Regions from separate parts of the Homo sapiens genome. Here all the other regions are linked to region 1. The links are contacts of gene promoters, found by promoter capture Hi-C in blood cells and fetal thymus (Javierre and others, 2016). All regions are on one chromosome and are shown on one strand. The core of a region is centred on a gene start or on the middle of the fragment in contact, and the rest is flanking DNA. Distances in the headings are between cores, read along the strand shown. Region 1 holds the start of KCNU1 (potassium calcium-activated channel subfamily U member 1). Region 2 has its middle 74 kb from the start of DUSP26. Region 3 has its middle 90 kb from the start of DUSP26.

Region 1 (5,045 bases), core at 1,096-3,595:
ATTTTATATTGATGTGGATACCAAGGTATAGAGAAATTAAATGACTTTCCTAATATCAGGCAATGAGGAAAGGCTGGGGCCTGAGCTGGCATTCATTGTTTGTTGATAATAGTCTAGAACCACCACAAAGAAATACACAAACCAACTAGGACTACCCACACCAAGCTAGATGAGTCCCTCTGACTTTCAAAAAAGCTCATTTTATATGAAGCCAGGATTTCAAAATCACTTAATTTTTCTACTCATATTTTCTGAATGATAAAAAGGGAAGTCTCATTAAAAAACTCTTTGATAAAAGTTCACATCCTGATCAATGATTTGCCCTCTAATAAACATGACTCATGTCGGTTTCTAAATGTTGTCTGAGAATTAATTTTAAAAAATCCTAGGTATGACATTAATATAGAATACTCATTTGAATTCCATCATAAAATTGGAGCTACCTTCTGTGGAAAAACAAATTGGTCCTAAGATATAATAAACTCATATTTATAGATGTAATACATGTTTTAAATGCACATTTAAGGAGAGAAATTGTAACTCTCCAAATAATTTTTAAAATAACTCTTCACAGTACACCTAGATTTCTGATTTTTTTTTTTTTTTGCATTTGTCCAACTTCTCCAAAGGCTTAGAGAAAAACAGGTCACTCTTAATTTGATGTAATAAAACAAATCATTGAAAAGTAACTCAACTTGATCAAACTCTTTCCTCAAGATTCAAAAGCAGAATGGTACAGCATTCTGGTTGCTCAGGCTCACTTCTTAACATTTTGTAACATTTGCTAAATATTTGTAATTAAAGGGTATACCTGGATCGAAGTGTAGACATAAATTACACCCAAAGTAAGAAATGAAAAATATAGGAAATTGACAAATGTACTGTCACATTTTTGTAATCACACAAAATGAACATAATGGAGAAGAAGAACATTGCCTGGAGCAGAAGACTAAGAAGATTTAAAAATCCTACAAATTCAGTTGTGCATTAACAACAACAAAACAAGGTAGAAACAAGGAGGCAGATCCATCATAGCTATTTACCCATATGTCAGTATCCCAGAATTCTTTCTCCAATTATTGTGCCACAGCTTAAAATCCATAATGTAGAAATAATCAATAGAATAAACTTGTTTAGGAACAAAATCTATAAGCTTCAGTATTGGATAATTTTCAAATATGGAAAACAAAATTCCATATTACCAATAACTTTAAAAACTTATCAATTTATGAATTATATTTTATGTAGGTTTTAGCACTAAAAGAAATGTTTTAAGCAAATTTTCAATATTATGATGCACAGGTGAAATGTGTTGTGTTATGGAAATTGCTATAATCTATCAGAGAAAGAAAGTTTGGGAAGCAAAATTGGAAACAAACTACACAGGGTATAGTAAAACTCTTCACCTTTGACCTCTGGTAATAGAACATCCATTACACAGCATTTGAGAGCTTTATTTCAAGCTCTTAAGCAATGCCTTATCTGTATAATACATCATTTATTCTCATCATCATCATTTGCCAGCTGTTATTCAACAACATCAACTCCTGCTAAGCTTGTTTGGGTATAAGAAATGTCCTTGCATCTATGCCTGGATGGCACAGGCATGTATGCATGGGCTTCTCTGTGTATGTGCAACTCAATGTGTTGTCTTCATATGGTATACAAAAGGCAATGTACACGTCAGTACATATGCATTATGCATGAACAATTTATGAAAGCAAGGTTGATGTTGATGTCTTGTTCCCTTTCACCTCCTTTCTATGACCTAGCACAATTGTCTTGTTAAAATTCGAGATAGAGGCATGGACATAATGTTTATGAACTTTTTTTCAGAACAGTGACCTCTGTTTCCAGAGCTAACATTAATCATTATCCATACAAGACATTGCTTTTTCCAGTGATGGGAGAGAGAAGAGGCTTGGCCCTGTCTCTTCAGGCCTCAGAATGTGGCCTGAGGTCTGGCTTACCACCCTTTCTGAGGCACCAGGCTATAGAAGCTGACTCTGTTAGCTTGAAAAACTGAATGAAGCTTAGATCTTTTACTAAACACAAAACTACCCCAAACTCATCTCTGACTTCACACAGAGGGATCCCTAACAAGGAAACTGACCAAGATAATTCCTGTTCCCTTGATGATTTGCCATTTTTTAACAGATCTCCAGATCAGCCTGAAGATCAACAGGATGATGAGTCCACTGAAGAAGGTCACAAAGGAAGAGAGAATGAATGCTGCTTGGATCTCAGTTGTGCAGGACATTTTTGGCAAGTCTTCCCAAGTTTCATTTCGTAGCTTAGTCTGAAACATGTTCGAGACATCAGTAGACGGAATTGCCAGGTCATTTGATGACGCCGTGGTCGCCTGGTAACAATTCCAGGAATCAGAGTTCACTGTACCACAGTGTTCCAACATTAGGCGTGATAACCAGTGAGAAGTTCCAGGAACAAGGGTCTGCCAATCCCCCGGTGCCAGCTCATGGGTTGTGAATGAATACACAACTGGAGATGGCTGGGGCCTACAATATGAATAGTCAAAAAAATCATAATTCTAGATCGGATTGTTACGACTTTCTCTATGCCTTGAAGAAATCCCATTATCTGTAGCAATGATCAGCTGGTTATCAGTTCAGTTAATGCAGTCAAATAATTTCAAATCAACTCTTTCGGAGTGAAACAACAGCCAACTATGTGTGTGAATGAGTTGGTTCTCTATCTGGGAGGATGCCACGTGCTTAGTAGGCTTGGAAGGACAGAAGAGAGAAGTACTTTAAAGTTTTTGTTTATCCTTTATACAAAGGAGCAGATATGCAGAATGAATAAGTCTAGAAGATCTAGTGTGCAGAACAAAGAACATAATTAATAAAATTATTTGTATTCAGGATTTTTGCTAAAAGAGTAGATTTTAAGGGCTCTTGTTACACGCACACAAAAGATGATTAACTCTGTGAGATGATAGATATATGAATTTGCTTGACTGTAGTCACTGCTTCACTATGCATAAGTTTATCAAAAGAGCATTTTGCGTTTGTACTTGTATGCGGAAGCTAAAACAGTGGATCTCATAAAGATAGAGAGTAGATTCATGGTTACGAGATGCCGGGAAGGGTGGCTGAGGAAAGAAGTTGGATAAAGAGAAGTTGATTAATGGGTACAAATATTTGGTTTGATAGAAGAAATAACATCTAATGTTCTATAGATCAGTGAAGTGACTATAGCTTATGATAATCTATTGTACATTTAAAAATAGCTAGAAGAGAAAAATTTGAATGTTTCTAGCACAAAGAAAATACAAATATGTAAGTTGATTGATATCCCAAGTACACAAATTATGTGAATGTATTAAATTATCACGTGACTTGAAAATATGTGTATCTGCTGTGCATCAATCCAAAGAATATCACGTTGTACTCCTTAATTACACACAATGAAAATCAAGATTATCTTGAAACAGAAAAAAAAAGGTTTTGTTTATTCTTTACATAAGAAAGGCATAGTATAGAGTGCAGGTATTGAAGAAGACAATTTAACTAGTGTGGTCATTGGTTGATTGTTATTTCAGCCCATAAATCCATTCCACTTATCTCTTCTTTATGGAACTCTCCCCTTTCTTGCTTTTATTACTGCCCTGGCAGCAAACCTTTTGGCCCAGCAGAGGTAAAGTTCAGAATGAGAGAAATTTCTTTGATTTTCCCTGATGTTTTCAAAGGTGTAAGAAATGTCATGCCTTTCAGTGTGCACAAGTGGCAGGCAAAATGTCAGAGCCCAGTGGAGGGCCTAGTTCACCCCAGTTATTACCAAGATAACCTGACACCAGGTGAAGAGGCCCAAGAGGAATCATCACGCTGTCCTTGGGAGCCCGCCATGACTCCACACTGTTTGGCAGGCTGTTTCAGAAGATAACTGTAGCATTTCCTAGGACTGCTGCCACAGTTACATTTCCTGCTTTTAAGCTTACCTATCATTTCTACAAAATCCTGTCATTGAGCTAGCTAATAACAAAGGGCGATGTTTAAAAGAACACTGGTCTAGGAGTTAGGAGCCCTGCGTTCCAGCCCAGTCCTTCTATTAAGTTACTGTGTGATTTCTAACAAGTCATTTTAATGTTCGTAGTCTTTTGATTTTATGTGGAAGATAATACCTACTTGATAGAATTATTGTGGGGATTCAAGAAGGTAGTGTGAACATATTTTGAAAAGCATAAAACTCAATATAAGATGCCATTAGCCATTTCAGTTCCTTTTTTGAATGGCATTAATTATAAAGACAGGAGGAGGAAGAAGTAAAGGAAAGGAGGGAGAGAAAGAAGGAAGGAGGGAGGCAGGGAGGGAGGTAGGGAGGGAGGTAGGGAGGGAGGAAGGAAGGAAGGAAGGAATGAACGGAGGGAGGGAGGGAGGAAGGAATGAGGGAAGGGAGGGAGGAAGGAAGGAAGGGAAGGAGGGAGGGAGAAATCACTTGTTTATCTCTTTCACATATGTGTGTGTGCGCACGCACACACACACACACGCGCGCACACACACACACACACACACTTACAGCTATGTGGACAAGATCAGACTTTCCAAGCCAAAATTCATCCACATCCTTTACTTAGTATTCTCCCTTTTATCTATCATTATCACTTTAATTTTCTTATTTTCTTCCCTTTTACTATTTACTGTTTGTTAGGATGGAGAAAAGAAACAGAGACAAGGGGAGGTCGCTCAACAGCAACACAGGTTTATTGGACAAAGACTTGCAGAAGGGGAACACCAGACAGCGCTGGAGCCCAAGCCCCGCTTACAGACTGGAGCAGTTGTAGGTCCCGACAGGAGAGGTGGGGCAGTATGGGTCGCTGCAGGGCAGGATGTGATAAAGGAAGAATTTCCTGCAGTCAGACGGTTAGGCCTGGGACCTGCCAGGATGTTTCTCATGGCCCGAGCCCCTCCAGGGGAATTTTCCACCCTAACCAGGGTGTGCAAAATGGCAGGGGTTTACAGGATGGCGCTGCTTGGGCTAACACTATTTTCAAAGTATTTCGATTCTGCTGTATTATGATGCATCCTGGG
Region 2 (5,045 bases), core at 1,144-3,643, 3.1 Mb after region 1:
ATCCTTGATCTTAAAGCATTTAAACTGAGTGTGGTAAGCTATTTCCCCAGTCCCCATCAGGCTGAGATGTAAAATTCCAGAATCACAGGTCACAGTGGTGGTGAGAGCCTGAATCATGGGCCCACCAGAGGAATCACAGCCCACTGATAACATTTCTCCTTCAGGAGTGCCTCATCTTTTAAAATTCAGCCTTGACTAGAAAATATAACTTGGCTGGGTGCAGTGGCACACTCCTGTAATCCCAGCACTTTGAGAGGCCAAAGCGTGTGGATCACTTGAGGTCAGGAAGTTCGAGACCAGCCTGACCAACATGGCGAAACCCTGTCTCTACTAATAATACAAAAAAAAAAAAAAAAAACAATTAGCCTGGCATAGTGGCACACACCTGTAATCCCAGCTACTCAGGAAGCTGAGGCACGAGAATCACTTGAACCCAAGAGGTGGAGGTTGCAGGGAGCCAAGACCATGGCACTGCACTCCAGCCTGGATGACAGAGTAAAACTGTGTTAAAAAAAAAAAAAAAAAAAAAAAAAAACAGAAAGAAAATGTAACTGAAGCCAAAAGCTATAAAACCTAATTAGCAGCTGAGTGAGGAACCCTTGAGAAGAATTGGAAGACTCAAAGACTGTTGAACAGGAGCTCTGAGAAGACAAAGTATTCAACTAGATGATCATCTTGTTAGAGTTGAGAAAAAGCTTAGTGAATATTTACGTACAACTTACCTACCATAAAATTTACATTAAACGAGACTTATCTGTATCTTGTCAGCATAAAGTTGTTTCTAAGAATGTTTACCAAGAATGGCAAAGAGCTTTCCTGTAATATTGATTTGCTTTAATAGTGCCAATGATTGCTGATTTATAATTCTGATACTATGAATGTTTGTTATAGGAAATTACATTTGTTAAAATGTGTGCTATAGCAAATTGTTAGTTCACTAAGAGTGTAAACTATTTTTGTCATGGAAGTCTTATTTTAACCACCCACCTTGTGACAATTAACTCAATTTCTATAATCTTATCAAATTTGTTACTTCATTTGTACATAAGTGAATCAGCATTCCTTGTTACTCAAAAATCATCAAGCCTTTTTTTAGGCTTTTTTAAACAAATATTTTGTATTCTAAAAGTTGTATCTCTAAAGTAAAATTTAAATTATTTTCTTTTTTTAATTTTTGTTTTTATTATATTTTGTTTTTATCATGGCCTATATTATTACTTTGGTAACATTCTCTTTAACCCTCAAACTAATAAAAAACTGTCACTCATCACAAAAGACTGGGTAAATTAAGAAGTACAGTTGATCCTTGAATAATATGGGTTTGAATTTCAGGTGAGTTTTCCTTTGCCTCTGCCACACCTGAGACAGCAAAACCAATCAAATCTTTCTCTTCCTCCTCTTCCTCTGCCTCCTCAATGTGAAGACAATGAAGATGAAGACCTTTATGATGATCCACTTCCACTTAATGAATAGTAAACGTATTTTCTCTTCTGTGTGATTTTCTTAATAACATTTTCTTTTCACTAGTTTACCTTATTGTAAGAACACAGTACATACTGCATATAACACAAAATACGTATAATCGACTATTTATGTCATTGGTAAGGTTTCCAGTCAACAGTAGGCTATTAGTAAAGTTTTGGGGGAGACAAAAGTTATACACAAATTTTCAACTGCATGGGGTGCCCATAATCACCACATTGTTCAAGGGCCAATTGTATTCATTGAGCATTGAGAATATACTTTATCTGAACATTAGTAATAATAAAAATAAACTTTTTTGGAATTTTAGACTCTACTTGCCAACGTAACCAAACTCAGGTCCAGCTGCTTGCCACTGGAAAACCAAAATTAAAGAAGCAAGATGCTTTGAAAAGAAAGCAACTGTATTCAAAGGCTAGCAGCTAGGAGATGGTTGGGCTCAAGTCCCAAAGGAACCATCTCAAAACTTTAGGCAAGTGAGTGTGTTCAAAAAGTGAAGTTGGCATGGGAAGCATGCGGGAGTGGTGCAGGGTCTGTATGTCTTGTTCTGACTGCCATCTTCAGTTATTGTCCACCTGGAGCGTGGGCTGGTGCCATCTCAAGGTGACAATGGCTGTGTTGCAGACTAACTGCCTTGAGGTAATCTCTACATGGGGAGGATTCTGCAGCTGGGTCTCTATGCCTGATTTATTTCAAGATTAGCCCCTGTAATTTATAAGCAAGCACATAGTTAGATAAGCAAGTGCAGTGCAAGGGACCTTGCCAACTTTGTTACTTCATTTGTACATAAGTGCATTGGCATTACTTGTTACCCAAAAATCAACACACCTTTTCTTAGGCTTTATTTTAAATAAATCCTTTTTGTTTAAAAAAAGTAGCAGGTGGCCAGGTGTGGTCTCTCACACCTGTAATCCCAGCACTTTGGGAGGCCGAGGCAGGTGGATCACTTAAGATGAGGAGTTTGAGACCAGCCTGGCCAACATGGTGAAACCCTGTCTCTACTAAAAATACAAAAATATTAACCGGGCATGGTGGCAGATGCCTGTAATTCCAGCTACTTGGGAGGCTGAGGCGGGAGAATGACTTGAACCTGGGAGACGGAGGTTGCAATGAGCCCAGATCGCGCCACTGCACTCCAGCCAGGGTGACAGAGTGAGACTACATCTCAAAAAAAAAAAAAAAAAATTAGTCAGGCCTGATGGCATGCACCTGTCATCCTAGCTACTCAGGATGCTGAGAGAGGAGAATTGCTTGACCCTGGGAGGCAGAGGTTTCAGGTTGCTGAGATAGTGCCACTGCACTCCAGCCTGGGTGACAGAGACCCTGTCTCAAAAAAAAAAAAAAAAAAAAAAAAAGTAGAACTACTATATAATCCAGCAATCCCGCCTCTGGCATAAATCCAAAAGCATTGAAATCAAGACCTCAAAGAGGTATTAGCACTCTCATATTCATTACAGCGCTGTTCACAATAGCCAAGATGTGAAAACAATCTAAACATCTATCGGTAGATGAATGGATAAAGAAAATGTGGTATATGCATACAATGGAATATTATTCTACCTTAAAAAAACAAAGTTCTGCAATATGCAACAACATTAACCTAAGATAAACCTTGAAGATATTATGCTAAGTGAAACAGGTCTCATCACAGAAGAACAAATACTGCATGATGCCACCAATAGGGAGTATCTCAAATAATCGAACACATAGAATCAAAGAGTGGAATGGTGGTTGCCAGGTCTGGGGAGAGGGAAATGGGGTACTGCTAATCAACAGCATACAGTTTCAGTTAAGCAAGATGAAGTTCTGGAGATCTGCTGTGCAACATTATAGCCTGTAACGTGTAGGTTATAACCTATAATAGTATTGTAACCTACAGTTAACGATACTGCATTGTACACTTAAAAAGTTGCAAAGAGATCGGATCTCATGTTGAGCGCTCTTACCACAATAAAATACAATTTTTAAAAAGCACTAATATATATAAAATGAGACAATACGTCACAAAATAGTCTATTCTACATCATTGCACCTATTATTAAAATGCTGCAGCCTGAACACTGTGGCTCGCACCTGTAATCCCAGCACTTTGGGAGGCCGAGGCGGGCAAATAACTTGAGGTCAGGAGTTCAAGACCAGCCTGGCCAACATGATGAAACCCTGTCTCCACAAAAAATATAAAAATTAGCCAGGCATGGTGGTGCGCACCTGTAATCCCAGGTACACAGGAGGCTGAGGCAGGAGAATTGGTTGAACCTGGCGGGCAGAGGTTGCAATGAGCAGAGATTGCATCACTGCACTCCAGCCTGGGCAGCAGAGTAAGTAAAACTCCATCTCAAAATAAAGTGAAATAAAATAAAATGCTTCATATGATTATGGTAATTATTAGAATAAAGCATTCAGTCCAGAAACCTCAGGGGTGGTTGTCTAACTATGGCTTTGAATAGCATTATTTTACTTAGGAGAAATTCTGTTTCCACCCACTACCCAGTTTTTGTGGATATTAATAATTATCTGGTTTGGTTGCCTTGCATCCATTCCTTTATTGATTTATTTTAATGGCAATAGTATCCCAATTTCCTTTACTCTCCTCAGGAATACAAGCTTTTTTTTATTCTCAAGCTACATGATTTGGAGGGTATCCACCCCAGATTAGGAGTGGAATATGTAACCTCGGGTTGACAGTCGTGGCCTCAACATTCTCTAGTCCAGTGATTGATCAATGTGAACATGTGACCTAGATCTGGTCAAACGGCAAACTTCATTTCCTGGATACAGTGATTGGTTCAGTAATATCAAATTGGTCCAATCATAGTTAATCCCAGGATTTATGGAGGAGCTATAGGAAAGAGACTTAATTTTTTCTTTTCTGTTGAACTTAGATTTAGGAAGATATTATCTTACAATTGCCAGAGGTCTCACATGAAGCCTGTGGATGAAGCTGACTATAAAACCAAGAGATAGGGCCAGGTGCAGTGGCTCACACCTGCAATTTCAGCACTTTGGGAGGCCAAGGTGGGTAGATTCCTTGAGGCCAGGAGTTCAAGACCAGCCTGGACAACTTAGCAAGACTTCGTCTCTACAAAAAAAAAAAAAAAAGAAGAAGAAGAAGAAGAAGAAAATTAAAAAAATAAAAATAAGAGATGGAGAGAAACTAATTTCAGATGACAGTACCTGAAGCCAGCTTTCCCCTGGGATTTTTCTGCTATACCATATGTGCTAATAAACTCCCCCTTTTGCTTAACTCAGTTTGAAATGAGTTTTGTGTTATCTACAACCTAATTTACTACTTAGAAGTAAGTTAGAAGCGTAAGTTACCAATCTTTCCAAATGAGATATTTCATATTGAGTAGTGGTTCAGCAGGGATGGAGGCAATCAGCTCTCCTTGGGTAGGAATTCCAACCTATTCCATAACTGTACCCCAGCATCACCAAAGCACCCATCAATCTGTAGTAGAATTTCCCCGGAGTTGAACTGGGAGGATCTAAGCATATCACCTTGGAGAAAGGCTAACCACTCACTCTAAAGTTTCTTCCTGGTTTTGAAACTTCTCTTTTTCTCT
Region 3 (5,045 bases), core at 647-3,146, 3.1 Mb after region 1:
GAGTTATCCAGGGACTGTCGGGAGAGAGGAATGGGAAGTTATTGTTTGTGGGTACAGAGTTTCTTTTTGGGATGATGAAGAAGCTCCAGAAATGAATGGTGGTTATGGCTGCACAGCAATATGAATATACCTAATGTCACTGAACTGTACATTTAAAAATGGTTAAGATAGTAAACTTTGTTATGTGTGTACCACATATTTTAAAACCACAACTTTAAAACAACAACCAAGAACAATTTATATTCAATGAGGATGGGATTCTCACGCTGACAGAAATACCTCACTCTAGGAAAGGAGGTTTAATTGACTAACGGTTCTGCAGCCTGTACAGGAAGCATGGTACTGGCATCTGCTTGGCTTCTGAGAAGGCCTCAGGAAACCTATAATCATGGCAGAAGGCAAAGGGGAGCCCCCACACAGACAGAACCACGAGGAAGAGAGAGAGCGGGGAAGTGCCAGACACTTTTAAACAACCAGATTTCAAGAACACTCACTCATTATCACGAGGACAGTAGCAAGAGGGATGGTGCTAAGCCATTCAGGACAAATCCACCCCCATAATCCAATCACTTCCCACCAGGCCTCATCTCCAACATTGGGGATTACAATTCCACAGGAGATTTGGTGGGGACACAGATCCAAACCATATCAGGAGGGAACCGATAGTAAAAGTTACTTAGAAGTCATGACTTTCGAACTGGGCTCTGAAGGGTGAATAGAAGTTCGCTAGATGATGAGTCAGAAGTCTGACTTTAAGTTCTGGAGCTGCCACTTACTGATACGTGGCTCTTTTTTCCTCATCTATAAAGGTGGGAAAAGATATACCATACAGTTGTGGTGATGAGATAACATGTCTGAAAATGATTTATAAACTATAGCAGGATTCACTGACAAGTGATATAAAGTAAAATGATGGCAGGAAAGACCTTTAGACATTGTATCCATATTGTTCAGCCCAGGATATTCTCTAAACTCTAAACAGGATAGGCTTCACTCCCTCCTGTCCCAGCCTGAATGAAGTTAAGAAAGAGCAGATAAGGAACAGGAGTTAAACAGCGAGATTTTGAAACTATATTCTTATTCTAGTATAGGAGTGTCATGTAGCCACTAAAATTCAGAAACAGGAAGATGTGGAGAAGAAATATGGGAAGGCATTGAGCATTCTGCTTCCTTCCCCTAATATATTATAAATCACAACTCTGATTTATAACTGTGTAAATATACAGATACAAAAACAAGAACTGAAAGTCAATATGCAAAAGTGAAACAAAGGGGTCACATTTTTCTTTTAATTTCATTTGATTTTTTTTATTATTTTTGCGATAACAAATGAGGACAAGAAAATAAGCATTCTATTCCCTTTTTAAATGTTTATCAGCTAATTTCTCGCTGAATACTTGCCCACAATCTCTGTCATTACTGACTTCCAAGGTGATCAAAGGCCCAGTACCTTTAAACCCTGGGGGCCTAGAGGGTAGCATTTGCTTCTAGCAATGACAGAAGTTTGCACAGAACAACTGGAGGATGCTCCAAGACCCCTTCACGGTAAAGAGCTGCTGCCTTCTATAGATTTATGACTCTGGGCTCCTGGGGACACTGAGGGCACAGGAAAAGCCATCACATCATGTTTGGCCTTGGGCTCTGATTCAAAGGCTGCAGCTTCCAAGGCCCTTGCCCTTCCCATTCTGAAAGACAAGGTGCTGACTCCGAAAGCTTGCAATGTTCATTTTGATTTCCTCAGATGCTGGCATTATTTCTCAGAGCAGGTCTTCCCCCAACTGCTTCTCTAGATGGGAGTGAGCCATAAACTATTTCGGCTGCTAAACTCATAACTAGATCAAGGAGAGAAACTAGGAATGGCAGGTTGGTTTTATACCCTCATGCTGTCTCTCCAGTCTATCAACATGTGGACCCATATGTATTAGCACCCCTCTCATACATCAGAAGCTGTAGCCTATAAACAGGGGAAACAGAATCAGAGGGACATCTCAATTTCACTCTGCAGATGGAAGGCCACTCTCACAGAGAGAGAAAACTTAACCCTGTAACTACATAGCTGCTCTCTTCAGCCAAAGCTTTGATTCTGCCAGCATGAGGGCCCCCATTCCCAAAGTGGAGGTGAAACGGGAGAGTTCCCTTATCCCCCTTGCAGGATGTGCAACAGGGATGTGGCTTGCCCCTTCAGTTGCCCCACTGCTCAAGCCTCTAGTGGGAGCATGCAGACGGGCAGGTGCAGGGGCCCTGGGGTTGCTCTGGGGCTCCAGCCCCACGGCAGCATCTAGGGGTGGGTGTCTGCAACTCCCCAAGCCCAAGTGGGCATATGTTACAGAGTGCTCTTTCAGCTTTGCCAGCTGCAGAAGGCTTGTGTTAATCAGCTCAATAGACCCTCTGCCTTATCGCAAGGGAAGAGGGCCAATGTGACAGCTTTCTGTATCCCGAGCTCTTTCCCAGTGTACCAGAAGAATTGGCTCACAGGATGAATGCAAGGTTTTGTTGAGTGGTAGAGGTGGCTCTCAGCAAGATGGATGGGGAGCTGGAAGCGGGGATGGAGTGGGAAGGTGATCTTCCCCTGGAGTGGGGCTGCCCAGCGGCCGGACTCTTCCCCGACTGCCCCCCGGCTGAACCCTCCTCGATGTCCAGACTTCCTTTTTCTTCTCTCTTTCTCTGTCACGTTGTTCTGTCATCACCGGTCTGCTGGTTCCAATATTCACCTGCTTGTGTCTGTGCCCACTAAGGGCTCATGTTTATATGGGCACAAGATGGGGGCTTCAGTGGGCGGGGGAGGGGGCACAGTGGTCTTAGAAAATGCAACATTTGGGTTTGAAAACAGGAGTTCCTGTTCTCATGTAGGTCCACAGGCACAGGCTTGAGGGTGGACCCCCCACCAAAGACCCAGACCTTCTGTACCCAACACTTCCCTGCCCCACTCCCGTGTCAGAAGGACTGTGTATGGTTGTGCTGCCTGTCTGTGCACAAGGGTTCCTGGCTAGGAGCAGTGGGGGCTGACCTCCAGCACAAGGCACATGCAACCTGTCATGTTCCTGGCCCAGGGACAGCTGCCTGGAGGAAGGAGTGCCTTTTTCACAATGGTATGATCTGCTCCCCAAGCTGCACTGCTAAGGGGTATACTGCCTGCCCTGTGGGGGTACCCTTTTCTAATTCACACAAAACACAGTATCCACTAGCAGTGGCCCAACCTGAGCAAACTGAGAAAGCCATCCTGGAGGTGCCTGTGTATCTTGCATCTGAATAGCACAGAAACCTGCCTGTAAACTGTACATCCAAGACCCAAGTAGGGAAGCTGAGTATTTTATGTTATTTTCTTATAAAAGGTTCTTTATGGCAGGGCGAGGTGTCTCACACCTGTAATCCCAGCACTTTAGGAGGATGAAGTGGGAGGACGGCTTGAGGTCAGGAGTTCAAGACCAACCTGGGCAACACAACAAGACCATGTCTCAAAAAAAAATAATTTAAAAATTAGCCAAGCATGGTGATGCATGCCTATAGTCCCAACTACTCAGGAGGATGAGACAAGAGGATCACTTGAGCTCAGGAGTTGAGGCTGCAGTGAGCTATGAGCCCACCATTGCACTCCAACCTGGGTGACAGAGTAAGACCCTGTCTCTAAGAAAATATGTTTTTTAGGTGCTGAAAGACTACCTAGGCCCCATCTAACTTTCAGACCAAGTTTTCCTTTTAGTTCCCATAATAAATGGTTCTTTCCTTTTGCAAAGTATTTAATAGCTTTCCTTTACAATTTCCACTGTGTTTGATCCTTGACAAATGCTCGCCCCTGCCCCCCGCCCACTTCCCTTTCCCTGGCCATCCCATTCAGATGCTACTTCATTGGCCATTCTTTCTCAGTGCTCCTTGCCTAGCACCTTCCTGTAGCTTTAGTGACCCTTTGATAACAATGTCATCATGGGCCCTCCCCAGGCTGTCTGTCTGAATTCAGAATTTTGGAACTATGCTTGACTCCTGAAACCATATAATAGAGAATTCCAGGATATGCCTAAAATAATTAACTCCACAGAATTATAAGTCTGGTTTCTAGAAAGGATCATAGCCTTCATCTTATGCAATTTTACCTCTCAAAAGGAATATCAAGCAACTGAGGCTAGAAATGGTAAGTGATTGCTGCCATGGTTTGGAAAGTCCATGCCCCCCACCAAAATTCATATGTTGAAACCTATTCCTCAAATACATGGTATTAGGAAGTGGAGCCTTTGGGAAGTAATCAGGTCATGAGGATGGAGACCTCATGAATAGAATTATTGCTTTCATAAGGGGCTGAAGAGACTAGGGTTCTCCCCTTGCACCATATGAGGGCACAATTAGAAGTCAGCAGGCAGTGTTCAGCCTGGCAGAGGCCCTCACCAGAACTTGACTATGTTGAGGCCAGGCATGGTGGCTCACGTCTATAATCCCAGCACTTTGGGAGGCCAAGGCCAGTGGATCACCTGAGGTCAGAAGTTCAAGACCAGCCTGGCCAACATGGTGAAACCTGGTCTTTACTAAAAAGACAAAAATTAGCCGGGCATGGTGGTGGGCGCCTGTAGTCCCAGCTACTTGGGTGGCTGAGGCAAGAGAATTGCTTGACCCTGGGAGGCAGAGGATGGCGCCACTGCACTCCAGCCTGGTAGAGCAAGACTCTGTCTCAAAAGGAAAAAAAAAAAAAAAAAGAAAGAAAAAATCTGACCATGTTATCACCCTGATTTCCAGCTTCCCAGCCTCAAGAACTATGAGAAATAAGTTTCTATCATTTATAAGCCACCTAGTCTATGTTATTTATTTCATTATAGCATCCCAAACAGACTAAGACAGTGACTTAACCCAAAGCCACACAAAGTATTTGTTGCAAAAATAGGAATACAGTGCAATGTTTGCAATCTTCCCCTCCGTGGATTCCGCATTTATCCACCTACCAAATGTAGACCAAGCTTCTGTACAGAGAAGTTGTCCTTGATGTTCTCAAGAGAGGCAATACCTAAGAGACTGTAATAAGGAAATTTCACAGTGCTTTCATGCACTACTGTTAGTACTTA

What was found. The method cuts DNA at HindIII sites, captures the fragments that hold promoters and counts their contacts. A CHiCAGO score of 5 or more calls a contact.
Region 2: a fragment that was not itself captured here is called in contact with the fragment with the promoter of KCNU1 in region 1 in 2 of 17 cell types (M0 macrophages and M2 macrophages); the score reaches 12.9 in M0 macrophages.
Region 3: a contact is called between a fragment that was not itself captured here and the fragment with the promoter of KCNU1 in region 1, in 1 of 17 cell types (M2 macrophages). The highest score is 5.1, in M2 macrophages.

Annotation. Positions count from the first base shown.
Region 1 is chr8:36,781,674-36,786,718 of GRCh38, reverse strand. It overlaps KCNU1 (potassium calcium-activated channel subfamily U member 1), which reads right to left and starts at 2,345. Exons shown (of 27, transcript NM_001031836.3): 1 at 2,114-2,345. The coding sequence starts at 2,308. The HindIII fragment of the contact is 1,918 bases long and covers 2,035-3,952 here.
Region 2 is chr8:33,671,645-33,676,689 of GRCh38, reverse strand. No RefSeq gene overlaps it. Among named protein-coding and RNA genes, the nearest start is that of DUSP26, 74 kb to the right of the region's middle. The HindIII fragment of the contact is 3,391 bases long and covers 698-4,088 here.
Region 3 is chr8:33,687,338-33,692,382 of GRCh38, reverse strand. No RefSeq gene overlaps it. Among named protein-coding and RNA genes, the nearest start is that of DUSP26, 90 kb to the right of the region's middle. The HindIII fragment of the contact is 362 bases long and covers 1,716-2,077 here.